Linked DNA regions of Homo sapiens: all the other regions are linked to region 2. Evidence: promoter capture Hi-C in 16 types of primary human blood cells and fetal thymus (Javierre and others, 2016). All regions are on one chromosome and are shown on one strand. Each heading gives the region's core, a stretch centred on a gene start or on the middle of the fragment in contact. The rest is flanking DNA. Distances are from core to core; before and after follow the strand shown.

The links. Contacts are between HindIII fragments. The CHiCAGO score rates a contact against its expected background, and 5 or more counts as called.
Region 1: a fragment that was not itself captured here is called in contact with the fragment with the promoter of GNAQ in region 2 in 1 of 17 cell types (neutrophils); the score reaches 5.1 in neutrophils.
Region 3: a contact is called between a fragment that was not itself captured here and the fragment with the promoter of GNAQ in region 2, in 1 of 17 cell types (monocytes). The highest score is 6.4, in monocytes.

The regions. Positions count from the first base shown.
Region 1 is chr9:79,565,058-79,568,823 of GRCh38, reverse strand. LNCARSR (lncRNA regulator of Akt signaling associated with HCC and RCC) reads left to right here and starts at 872. Exons shown (of 3, transcript NR_184113.1): 1 at 872-1,192. The HindIII fragment of the contact is 808 bases long and covers 1,734-2,541 here.
Region 2 is chr9:78,030,292-78,034,333 of GRCh38, reverse strand. It overlaps GNAQ (G protein subunit alpha q), which reads left to right and starts at 2,523. Exons shown (of 7, transcript NM_002072.5): 1 at 2,523-3,234. The coding sequence starts at 3,099. RefSeq lists an enhancer at 2,440-3,334. The HindIII fragment of the contact is 11,535 bases long and covers 577-4,042 here.
Region 3 is chr9:79,610,784-79,614,686 of GRCh38, reverse strand. It overlaps TLE4 (TLE family member 4, transcriptional corepressor), which reads right to left. Exons shown (of 20, transcript NM_007005.6): 5 at 1,969-2,031. It overlaps LOC124902329 (a long non-coding RNA gene), which reads right to left and starts at 1,962. Exons shown (of 2, transcript XR_007061903.1): 1 at 1,143-1,962. RefSeq lists an enhancer at 2,845-3,903. The HindIII fragment of the contact is 1,783 bases long and covers 1,541-3,323 here.

The sequences.
Region 1 (3,766 bases), core at 888-3,387, 1.5 Mb before region 2:
CTGTGCAGTTTTCTCTCAGGACAGGAAACGAGAATTCTAAGAATAGAACCCGAAGAACTATTGAAAGGGTCAGTGGACAAAGAGGAAACTTTGCTCTGTTAGGAAATATCAGATCACTTATAGCAAGGATCTTTCCCCTAATCTCTCTCGATGGTTTGTGTCAACAGGAAAGTGGCTAGAGAAGTCAAGATGTTTCTTTATTTTTTAAGTTCTGTATTAAAATATAGCCCTTGGATGTGTTTCACATTTTGGCCACGTGGCAGAGCTATGTAACTCACCTCAATGTCTCAGAAAGATGCAAATGCAGCAACTGGCGGCCCAGCCCTAGCCGTAACACAGACTGTAAGTGGGGCTCATGGCCACTTTTTCTCCTTTTCTCTGCTGTGCTTCTCTCATTGCACTTCTCGCTAACTGTTGAGCCAAGCTATGATGTTATCTGGAGGCCTGTCTTATCCCTACCACAGAGTGGGGGGTAGGTGGGGTGTTCCAGAGTTTTCATGTGGGAGGCACTTGGCAGCAACTTTCATGTTAAAAGCTAGGCCTGAAAGCTCCAATCTTGAAGTGACATATGCCAAGCATGCTTTTCACTTTGGTTAGATGTAAATCATTTATTTATTACTTCACCAAATATTTATTAAACCTACTATGTGCCAGAATATGGGGATTTCACAATAAAAGTGGCTATTATTAATATGTTGCCTCTTAGCTCCAAATTCATCCTCATTGCCTGCCTAGTGAAACTGAATCTGAGCCCTTTAAATATTTTCCAGCTGTTAAAAAAGCTAGGTCAATAGAAGGCGCTGGAGAGACATTGCAGGAGGAAAGGGTTTGGTTTCCTGGTTCCTGGCTCTGGTTGCATACTGGGCAGGTTCCTACAGCACAGGTAGCAAGCAGCAGCACCCAGCAGCCAGCAGCTTCCTCCAGAAGCCCCTTAGGTGGCTTTGGAGCAAGTGCCTCTAATGAGTCACCTCCCTCAGCAGCTTTCCTTGGAACCCCAGAGAATGGATTTCCAACGAGTTCTGGAATGTGGATTTCTAGCAAGTTCCAGAAGGCAGAATTCTAGCAGGGCTCTCCTGCTATTCAGAAAGTTACAACTGTGCCCTCTCCAGCAAAGTCTGGATCTCAGCCAGCCCTAAGAGTGTGTCTGTGTCTTGGAGGAGCTCTTTTTGAGATGCTGTATCTCAGCCCTAGGGTTAGTAAGTAGCTGTTCCTTATATCTCTATTTCTGTATTATTTAGAGCTCTCTTTACCTCTTACCAATCTCCCTTTGATCCAATTCCCTGTTATAGGTAATAATTTTTTATATTGAACTTTCCTTGTTGAAATTACTGTTTTTCTCTCTTGATCGGATCCCGATTGATACAGTAAACAACATAAGCAAAGTGTCTTTCTTGCTGGAGCTTACATTCTGATGGGGGGAGATAGACAAACAGTTGCATAATATGAAGGAGTGACAGGAGTAGTAGAACTAGTTCAGATGGGAGTTCATAGAAGCCTTCTTGGAGGAGGTGACATTTAAGCAGAAGCCTGAATGCCTAGAAAGAGTCAGCCAAAGCAAAAATCACTGAGAAGCAAATTTCAGGTGGATTCAAAAGCCTCATTTGAGGAAGTGTTGGTGAATGTGAGCATTTTTTAAAGACTGGTACATGCTAGACACAGAGTAATATAAGATTAGGTCATGGCTACATCACTGGGTTCTGGTCACATTGAACTTCTTATGCCTAATAAAAGCTTTCATTTTCTACTCTGATTATAATAGCCATTGTGGAGGGAGAAAGGCTCGTAAGCAGGGAGTGACAAGATCATTACAAATATCAACTTGGTATAAGGTGCCCACGTTCATACTTGACCTAAGATTAAGAAAGTACCCTTTGTCATATTAAAGAATTATCAATTGTTTTTAATTGGGGGCAGCTGATAAAGAGTACAGAAGCACATATGCTGCCCTTCCCACACACATCCTTTGGTACTGCCACTACCTCACCCCCACTAATGAGTGATGGGTCCATTTTAATTTGGAAAGAGGATGCCTATGCAAGTTTGAATGTCAAGCTCTGCATTGAATATATAGCTAGAACAGCAATGATCATAGAGAATCAAGGACATGCACATCCATTTCTAGATCTGCAATTGACTTGCTCAGAAACCATCCTCCCATCTATGTTAAGATAGAGAGAACTGGACAGAAAACTCATTATTGAAAAAGATTCAGGACATCAATGCTAAAGAGAGTGACAAATTTCTTAACTTGTCTGGTTAGGTAGAGGTTTGTTGCCAGCTGCCTCAATGTTTAGTGGTGAAGACTGCCAAGCTATCTTTGTGTTGGGATGTCCCTTCTTATCTTGATGGATAAAAGGAATGTAGGTACCCGTTGCCTTTTTGTGGGGAGGGAACTTGGCTTGGGAGTGCAGTGGACAAATTTGCATAGGTACTAAGGAGGCTTCTGGGACAAAATAACTGTCCTTATTGAAACGCTACATTATTTGAATGCTTTGAGATTATCCCTAATTAAGTCTGCAGGCAAGAAGGAGCACTGAAGCTTTCTCTTCCCTCCCGGAGATTATGGTGCAGACACAGTGGTGTATGTGGGAGGGGCTATCTAGAACGCAGCTGAAGTCAACAGGAGAATGGACCAGTGACCCAAATTCACTAGCTGCAATACAGAGGCAGGAAGTATGGATCTTTCTCATTCGGAAATAACTCTTTATTGAAGATACAAATCTCCTTTTGGATTAGACATCCTGGCATTAATGGGGTGCTTCGGGATAAATAGCTGAGTGTGTGAGGAAGATAAGGCTGCATAGCACTTTTATAGGCACACCTTATGTCAACAATGGAGCTGAGGGAGACCCTGACTTCTTGCTAGTCTGAACAGTTGTCTTGAATAGTTAAAAAGAGCTGTGAACTTATTTATACTCTATAACAGAGATCATATCTAAGAAATACACTACTAAAAATGACTCCCTTACTTGAGGAACGCTCACATTGTCTTTAATTTTCTAGAATCTAGAAGGGATCTTTAACAGCTGCTTCTGTTTCATTCCCCTGCCTTTAAGCAAACAAGATATTATTATCCCCACTTTAAAGATTAATCAACTGAGGCTCAGAAATAAGTCACTTGCCCAAGGTTATATGGCTTGTAAGTACTGAAGCAGAGATCAGAACTCTTGTCTCCTACCTCCTGATTTAATACCTTGCATAAACCTGAATTCCACAAATGAGTATTCAATTAAAGTATGTAATTTGAGCACTATCCAACTCACCTGCCTGGTTTACTCCTTTTCAAGCAGATGTTTTATTGCAAAAATGGGGGCAGAGGGTGAATCAGGGAGATGACTGTGTTGCAGCTGCCACTGTGCAAAGGCTGAAACTGAGAATTACCATGGCTGCAGGAAGCATGGCTCACTCCCTTCAGCCTCCGACCTCAGAGTGTCTGAAGGCTCAGTAAGGAAGTTCCAAAGAGATGCACAGTGCTGAAGCCCTAGTCCTTTTACTTTCAACTAACAGCAGGGTTCACACCTATGCAGCTGCTCTTGCCGTGCCTTTCCACAGGCTCCCACTCTTGCTAACTATCACAACAGCCTATAGGGCAGACATTACAGGAGAAAATCTGCGCATTTCCTTTCTGAAATGAGTGGTGCGGGAATGGGGTAGGTGTAGGAAAGTGTAAGTAAACATCTTACTGCTTTGTACAAGAAAATAATTCATAAGAGTCTAGTATTATTTTTATTTATTTATTTTTTGAGATGGGGTCTCACTCTGTTTG
Region 2 (4,042 bases), core at 1,274-3,773:
TTTACACATAGTAGGCAATGAATAAATGCTTGTTGACTGAATGAACTGGGATTTTGTAACATAATCCCTGTTTAGTTGCATGTTTTAGAGTATGTGCTTGTAGAACATGGTCAACTATCAGTTGTTTCTGCATGGGTTCTATTTGTTTGACTTAGTCTCTAGGAATATTTGCTTGGCAAACGCTCTCCAGATAATATGAAAAGGTTTTTGGATAGATCTGGGCTCAGACTTGGAATTTCTTTTCCTGTTTCCTTCTTGACACCCATATATGGCTTTATCACTGTAGAGTGTTGGTTTTTCTTACTTCCTGGTTTCTCCCCAATACTTGAAACATTCTCCTATTGATTCATTGCATCCATTTAAGTATCTAAGTTGCCAGGGAGTGTTCATGATGTTGGGGGGATACAGGGGGGACAAAACAGACTCTGACTCTATAGCCCGCTGAAACAGATGAATTCATCAAATAATAGGACAATTCAGTCAAAACATATTACCTGATAGCCTGATGGCTCATTTTAAAAGACATTTTTAAAAGTCTCAGAGGATCCCTGGGTAGGTAACCAGAGACTTCAAGCTTTCTGTCATTTGGTTTTCCAGTGTTCTGTGTCTCTCCAAAGCTCATATACATACATATATTCGGAGGATGCAAACTTAAAATTTTTTCTTCTGAAGCCACTTTCTATTTTTGCATACTGAATTTCAATCTTTAATTTCTTTAGTCACTTGATTTTAAATTTTAATTTCATAGCAAGTCTAGCTGTTCTCTGTAGGCATTCACATAAAAGGGTTGAGGTTTGCCCTCTCTGCTCTCCAGGGCAAGGTGAAATTTAATTATTTTCTAGGTTTTAAACAGAGAACCTAAAATATATATTTTATATCTTGACTTGCTTGATTTAAATCGTGGTTTAGAGTGTGTGTATGTGTGTGAAACGGTGGAGTAATGGCAAATGAAAGAAAGAAGGAAGTTACACACCTGTTGTCTAAGAACCCTATATGAGTTCTTGATCTGTAGCAAAAGCAGAGTCATGACCGTACCTTACACTCTGGATCAGCAGGTTGCACCAGGGACACTTCAGAGAACACATGAAACGTGAAAAAGCGGTTCTCTTCATAAAAGACAATTTTCTTTGAAGACCTCAGGTTCCTTTAAGGCAGGAAGCAATATGAGTTTCATCTCCTGGGCCTGATTAAACAAGATTATTTTCGTGTGCTATTTATCAGTAGACGATCACAATGAAATGTGCATACGACAGTTTACTGCCTCAATCACATATTGCAAATCAAAAAAACTAGAATGCCGTTTTGCTGGGGCCTCCTTAGTTTCTCTTCTATTTCATTCTTTCCTTTCCTTTTATTCCACATTATTTTACATTTTCCCATAAGTCATCCATAATTCAATCTCAGTCTAGAAGAGTAAATTCGATTACTCGGCGGCTAAACATCGTGTGCCTTCTCAGAAACAAGAGAACTTGTAAAACAAAAACAAAAACAACTTAAAAAAACAAAAACAACCAACAACCACCAAAAAAACAAAGGCATGAAAAGTTGGAACCTATCGGGAGGCTCTTGGAAACTTGGGCAGCTTCCTTTCTCTGTTCAGGATTTAGATTTCTATCTCACGTTACTTTGCGAACAGCTTCGCCTGTGAATCTCCCCCTACACCTCTGGGCACCGGTGCCAATTCCTTCCCTTCCCTTCCCCAGTAGCCCCACACAGTATAGAGGAGCTTATTTTCTAAGACTGCACCGGTGTCAGAGGTGACGTGAGAGTTTCTAACCGAATGGCGTTTTAGAAATAGGAACGGGAAACACAGAAACGGCTGAGGAGCGACCCCGTGGAGCAGACAGGCACAGCCCGGGAGCGGCGGACGCCAGCGCCGGCGCCGCAGGGAGCGCGTGCGGGGCTCCGCGGGGCCGCCTCCCGCGACTTCAGCAGGGGCCGCGGCCGCGCTCCCGGGCCGGTGGGCTGAGGCAGGCAGAGGCCGCCATATTCCTGTCTCACCACGCCCGGCCGGACGGCAGCCGCAGGTCGGCTGCGGCCCTGGCACGCAACGGCGGCCGCCGGCTCGGGCTGCGCGTCGGCGGCCGGGTCTGGCCCCGACTTCGGCCGGGGGCGGCCGTGACTGCTGCGCCCGCGGACTCTGCCGAGGGTGCGGGAGCAGTAGGCGTCCGCAGAGCCCGCGGGGGCCGGCCCAGCCCGGGAGCCGCGCGGGCGAGGCGAGAGCCGCACTGGGAGGCGCGCCGCGGCGGCCGCGAGCCCAGGAAAGCCTTCCAGGAGGGGCCGGGCGGCACCGCCTCCCGGCTCCCTCCTCCCGCGCCCATCCCCTCCGCCTCTTCCTCCTCCTCCTTTCGCCGCCGCCTCCTCCCTCCCGGATCTGTGCTCCAGTTCAGAGAAAGAAGAAAATGTGTGTGTGTGGCGAGGGGGAGGGCTCGCACTGAGCAGCCGCTCCGCGCCTGGCAATCGGGGCAGGGGGTGGGCGTCTGGCGGGGGCGGGGGCGGAGGCGGAGGCGGAGGAGCGCGCGGTTGCCGGGCGGGACGGGAACCGGGTCTGCGCGCGAGCCGGGCGGTGGGCGCGGACAGGGCCGAGGGCGCCCGGGAGCCGTGTCAGGCGGCGGCGAGGAGCGGGCGCGCCGGGCGCGGGGAGCCGTCGGCGGCCGCTCGCTGCGGGGACACCCCGGTGAATGAGCTCTCGCCGCCAGGCGCACGGCGTAGGGGAGCCTCGCAGGCGGCGGCGGCGGCGGCGGCTCGGGGGGCGAGGCGGGCCGCCTGTTCCCGGGGAAGGAGGCGCGGGCGTCTGAGCGAGGCCGGGCGCGGCGGCCTTCTCTCACGCGCCCCCCGAGCCAGCGCCCGCCTCCCGCGCCCGCCTCTCTTCTCCCGTCGGCCCAGACTATCCGCTCCCACCGCGCCCCCGGCCCACCTGGTGGCCCCGGCCCTGGCCGCCGCCCCCGCGGCGGTTCCCGGAGCTCGTCCCGGACGCGCGCCCGGGCGGCGGGGGCTCGGCGGCCACCGCTGCCTCGGGGGAGCGAGGGCGGGAGGGTGTGTGTGCGCGCTGTGAGCAGGGGGTGCCGGCGGGGCTGCAGCGGAGGCACTTTGGAAGAATGACTCTGGAGTCCATCATGGCGTGCTGCCTGAGCGAGGAGGCCAAGGAAGCCCGGCGGATCAACGACGAGATCGAGCGGCAGCTCCGCAGGGACAAGCGGGACGCCCGCCGGGAGCTCAAGCTGCTGCTGCTCGGTGAGTACCGTCCGGGGCCCCGCCGGGCCTCTGCGCCCCCAGCCCACCATCCTTGGCCCTGCGGGGCAGCTGCCTTCGGCGCCCCCGCCCCCCGGCGCCCGCGGTTCGCCCCTACCCTCCCGGGCGCGCCCCCGGCCACTGCCTTCACCCGCGCGGGCGCGCGGGCGCGTTACACACAGACACACACACACACACACACACACACACACACAGCGACACACACACGCAGCACAGGGGTCGGGGCTGCCCTGCCCGGTGCCTTGGCTTGTTCCTTTTCGTGTCCCTGAGGGCTGTACCTTATCTGCTGTGCATCTGCTAAATGGCAGATCACTCCGACCAGAGGCGCGGGGGTGGAAAGGTGGGCAGAGGGGTTGAACTTCCAGTGTCGTGGCCGCGGCACCCCATGGGGTGGTGGCGTGGGGAGCCGTGTGTGTGGCCCAGCGGGTGGCGAGCGGAGCCGGGGCACGTTGGGGGATGGCCTGCGGTGGAGTGGCCGGTGTGCATCCATTATCAGTGCCCTATGGGGTCAGGAGGGAATGGGGGAACGGTGGGCAGACTCGCAGCTGGATTCCCGGAGCACTCATGGTGAGGAAGCCAAGTGGTTGGCCCTCCAAGGAAAGGGTCTGTGTACTGGGGGCGAGGCGGGAGGGCAAGCCCAAATGTGTCACACAAGTGCTGTTCTCTAGCCACCAGACCATCGAAAGGAGGGAGCCTAGAAGAGTTGGCCAGTGGATGGTGACAGGCGTTATTCTCGTCTGCACCATTCCTTCTAGATAAAGATGAGGGTAGGGGAGCGTTGTGCTGTGTG
Region 3 (3,903 bases), core at 1,183-3,682, 1.6 Mb before region 2:
TAAATCATTATACGTGAGTCAAGGATTTCAACCAAGAAATGTCAAAGTATTTGGGAAATAAATAGTTAAGTGGTATGACAACAGTTAAGTATGACACCTTTCTTCCCAGACTAGAGCAAATGAGTTGTCAGTATCTCCCCATGGCTTTCACCTACAGGTACAACTTCCTTAGACAATTAATTTCAGTCCAGTCTTGCTCAGCACCACTACCATTATACATTCTGTTCCCACTGGGCCTGCTCACACAAACAACATAATTCATGTGGGAAAACAACTCATTGGCAAATCAGCTTCATCAACATCCCCAAGACAACCTTCTACTTCTGAACACAACCCACAGATCCTGCAGAAATGTGATGAGACCAAAGCCATACCAGCGATCATATACAGGGGTCTGTGCCTACAGAGGCCCAAAGTCTAATACCACCCCAGGGATAATTCGAACTTTTCCCTGTCACCTTAGAACATGACACCCCAGCCTGGTTACAGCTCTGTAGGTCACACATTCTTCCCATTCTCCATCTCCATAAAGCAGAGCTGCTTAAAGTAAAAAATACACACTAGTCTGGATCAGGCAGGGGGCAGTCAGGTTTCCAAAAGAAATGCAGATACACCCCTTGACTCTCATTCACCAAGCCATCTAATCTAGCCATAAGCAAATCCTAAGTAAAAACAGGCAAATGGGGACATGACTGGTGGTAGGTTTTGTGGTCACAGCTAAAGGAGGAGAAAAGACAACATACCCTTTGTTTATCAAGACCCAAAAGAGCATGTGAATTCAGAGTGTCAACAAGATTTGTGAATATGAGTGCCCCCTCCCCAGTATATACCTATGAAGGGTACCCATAGTTACTCAAGTCTAACCCAGTCCAGACCAAAGAAAAAAATCATATACAGCAATCTGCATATCTATAATACACATGCAGGCTCAAATATTGGCCACATAACATTGGCACATGCCCGCTGGCAAGCAGGTGAATGAACCTCTCTCCTGAAAAGCAGTGACACAACACACTTATAGAACAACTGAAAGGGTAGGAAGAAAAGTGCCTCTGTGCCTTCTCAGCCCACAGCACAAAGTATTGCGGCTACAAGACATGCAGATATTTCATTAGCTCCTTCCTTCTTAGAGTGGATCTTACCTGAGCAAATGAAGGCATTCAGTAATCCAGAAGCAAAAAATTATCTTTTTCCAGTATTCTCACTTCAACTTTGTAACTACCAAAAGTAAGCAGGGAGAGAAAAAAAAACCACAAGGAAGCCAACAAGCACTAGAAATGCATCGCTTTATTCCAACCTGTGCCTGTTTGCTGATGGCATGCACTTCCCCTGTAGGTGAGCAAGAGAACTAGTGAGCCGCATGCCAGGCCTTAGCAATGTGCTAAGCCTACCATCACCAAAGCCTAATTTTGAGAAAAGTGGCACTCAGAGAAACGAGTTCAATGAGTTCATCTTGCAGGTCTTTTCCCAAAAGCACAATAATATAAAGACTTAATCAGGAAACAAGAAGTAAATGTTTAAAAGTAGCTAGCCAAAAGCTTCATTAGTTTGTTTACTACAAAAAGTCTTTCCATTTGATATGTCTTCTGCCAATTCTTAATGCCCAATGACAATAGTACAGAGTAAGCTCCTGTTTTCCTGGCAATTTTTCAGTCTACCCTATTAGGTACCATTATGACAAACAAGCATAATTCTGAGCAACACGACAAAGATAGCAAAATATTTTAACGACTGAATTTTGCTTAGCCCAACTAGAAAATATTCCATTATGTAAACACATATAAATTATATCCCACAGAAAGTTACTAAGGTATACAAGTTGGAGTGAGAACACTGTTTCTTAGAAATGAAAATAAAATACAAACACCAAGAGACTGGCAAGGCCAGAGAGTCAGTTCTACAATCCCTTTTCTGCAAAACCACTAAAATGGCAACTTCTAGTCCAGTGCCTAAAATCAACTACCTTACCTCTTGGGACAGGAAAGGAATGACTTGTGCACAGATAGCATTCAGCCTCTTGACAATCTCTGCCTGCAAAAAATAAGGGAAAGGAAAGCAATAAAGAGAACAGTCAGCTGGTTACAGATTCCCCAAATATTAACAGGATGATATTAAAACATACTTTATAATTTGGCTGGCATATTTCCTAAGGAAGAGGAAAACTATCTCATCAGTAAGCCCATTAAAAGGAAGCAGTGACAACAGTGCCACATTAACAGCACAATTTATTAACCAGCATTCATCTTAAAAAGTTAACCTTCAAGCATCAGGGCAATATAAAATGGAATTTAATTTCCATGACTGGAAATCAGTTTTCAACAGCCTTCACCAGGACCCTTGCTCATACTAATGTTTTCCATAAAACCTGCAGTCTTCTAAGTCTTAAGAATTTAGATAAGTAAAGATACATTCTTTCCTACATCTCAACTCCATCAATTAGCAAATCATTGGATTTCTATATTTGTGGCCTTTGCTTTAAAAACATTGGTGCTGTGATTTTAAACTCAAGACCCTAAACTTCTGAAACAGCAGCACCCAAACAACCCAAAAAAGTTGGCTAATTCGGATTCTTACAAATTCTTGGAGAACAAAATGTTTTCTTCAACCATAAAAATTTCCAAATGTGTCCTACCAAGGTTTTCAGTGTGCAGAGGTTGAGATATGCTAAAATCTTATTACACTTAGCAGGAAGCAATCTGTATGTATCTGGAAACTATCCTTGGGAACTTTTTTTTTTTTTTTTTTTTTTTACTGTGGATATGCAAAAGTCCCAACAATGTCAAAGAACAGTCTATTCTCTAATAATTTTTATAAGTACAGACATTTTAAACCAATAAGATGCTACAGTAAGTTAAAAGAAAAACCACCACTACATGTTTTCTTTAAAAAGTTACTCACAGTTTTACCAATGTTTATCTTAATTTGTATTTTTCAGATGGTGCCTTGTATATTTTGTGATGTATAAATACACAGTTTTTTTTAATACACGTACATACAAAATAGTTTATATTTTAATGATGGAATGGAGGAAAGAGAGCTAAGAAGAATTGAAAGGCAGAAAATGTAAAGCAATTACTATCCCTAAGACATTCTTAAATTCCATCCAGGGTCAGTTCCTCATTTTATGTGAGGCCCAAAATGCCTTTTCTTGCCAAGTCATTACCAGAATGACAGTGACACTCTACTTGTGCAATCTAGGCTTCCTTCTTTCATCAGCAACCCTTCTAACTGTGTAGCTATGCAATCTTTTAAATGCCAGCACCTTAAAAACTTTACCAGCCAAAAGAAAACACAAATTCACCATGAAGTTTCAAATCCAAGCTTTCCATTCCAGCCTGCATTCCTAACAGTATGGACAAAAACCCAGCACCAATAAGCTGCAGTGAATAAGGACCCAACTGTGCTGACCTGATTTAATTTACTGCACTGGCCCCATGGAGCATTTAGCCATCCTTTAAGAATGCTTAAGCCACCATGAAGAGCTGCAATGGGAATCACCAAACCACTCTCCACCTGGACGAACATACCACAGTGGTTATGGGGTGAAATTCCAGGGTGAGCAATAAAAATAGAGTAGCATTCACCAGGCTGAAAGTACAGCATCTCAAATGCATTTGGTTGTTAAGCTTTTTGCAGGGAGAGGTGGAGGGGGAGAGAATAAAAGATAATGAGACACTTTGGGGCAGACCAAACTGATGATTCTAATGCTTAGAACCATCTGCCAAGCATATTTTCGTCATTATGTTGTTTACATAAATAAAATAGTCCCTTGCTAGGAGGGCTGAAAAATGTGTGGGCACATAAGAAAACTGAGTTCTTTAGTTCGCCTACATAATCTAGGCAATAAAAACGACTCTAAGGAAACTTATTCATCTGGTGAAATAAAATTTTGGACCTAGGCTG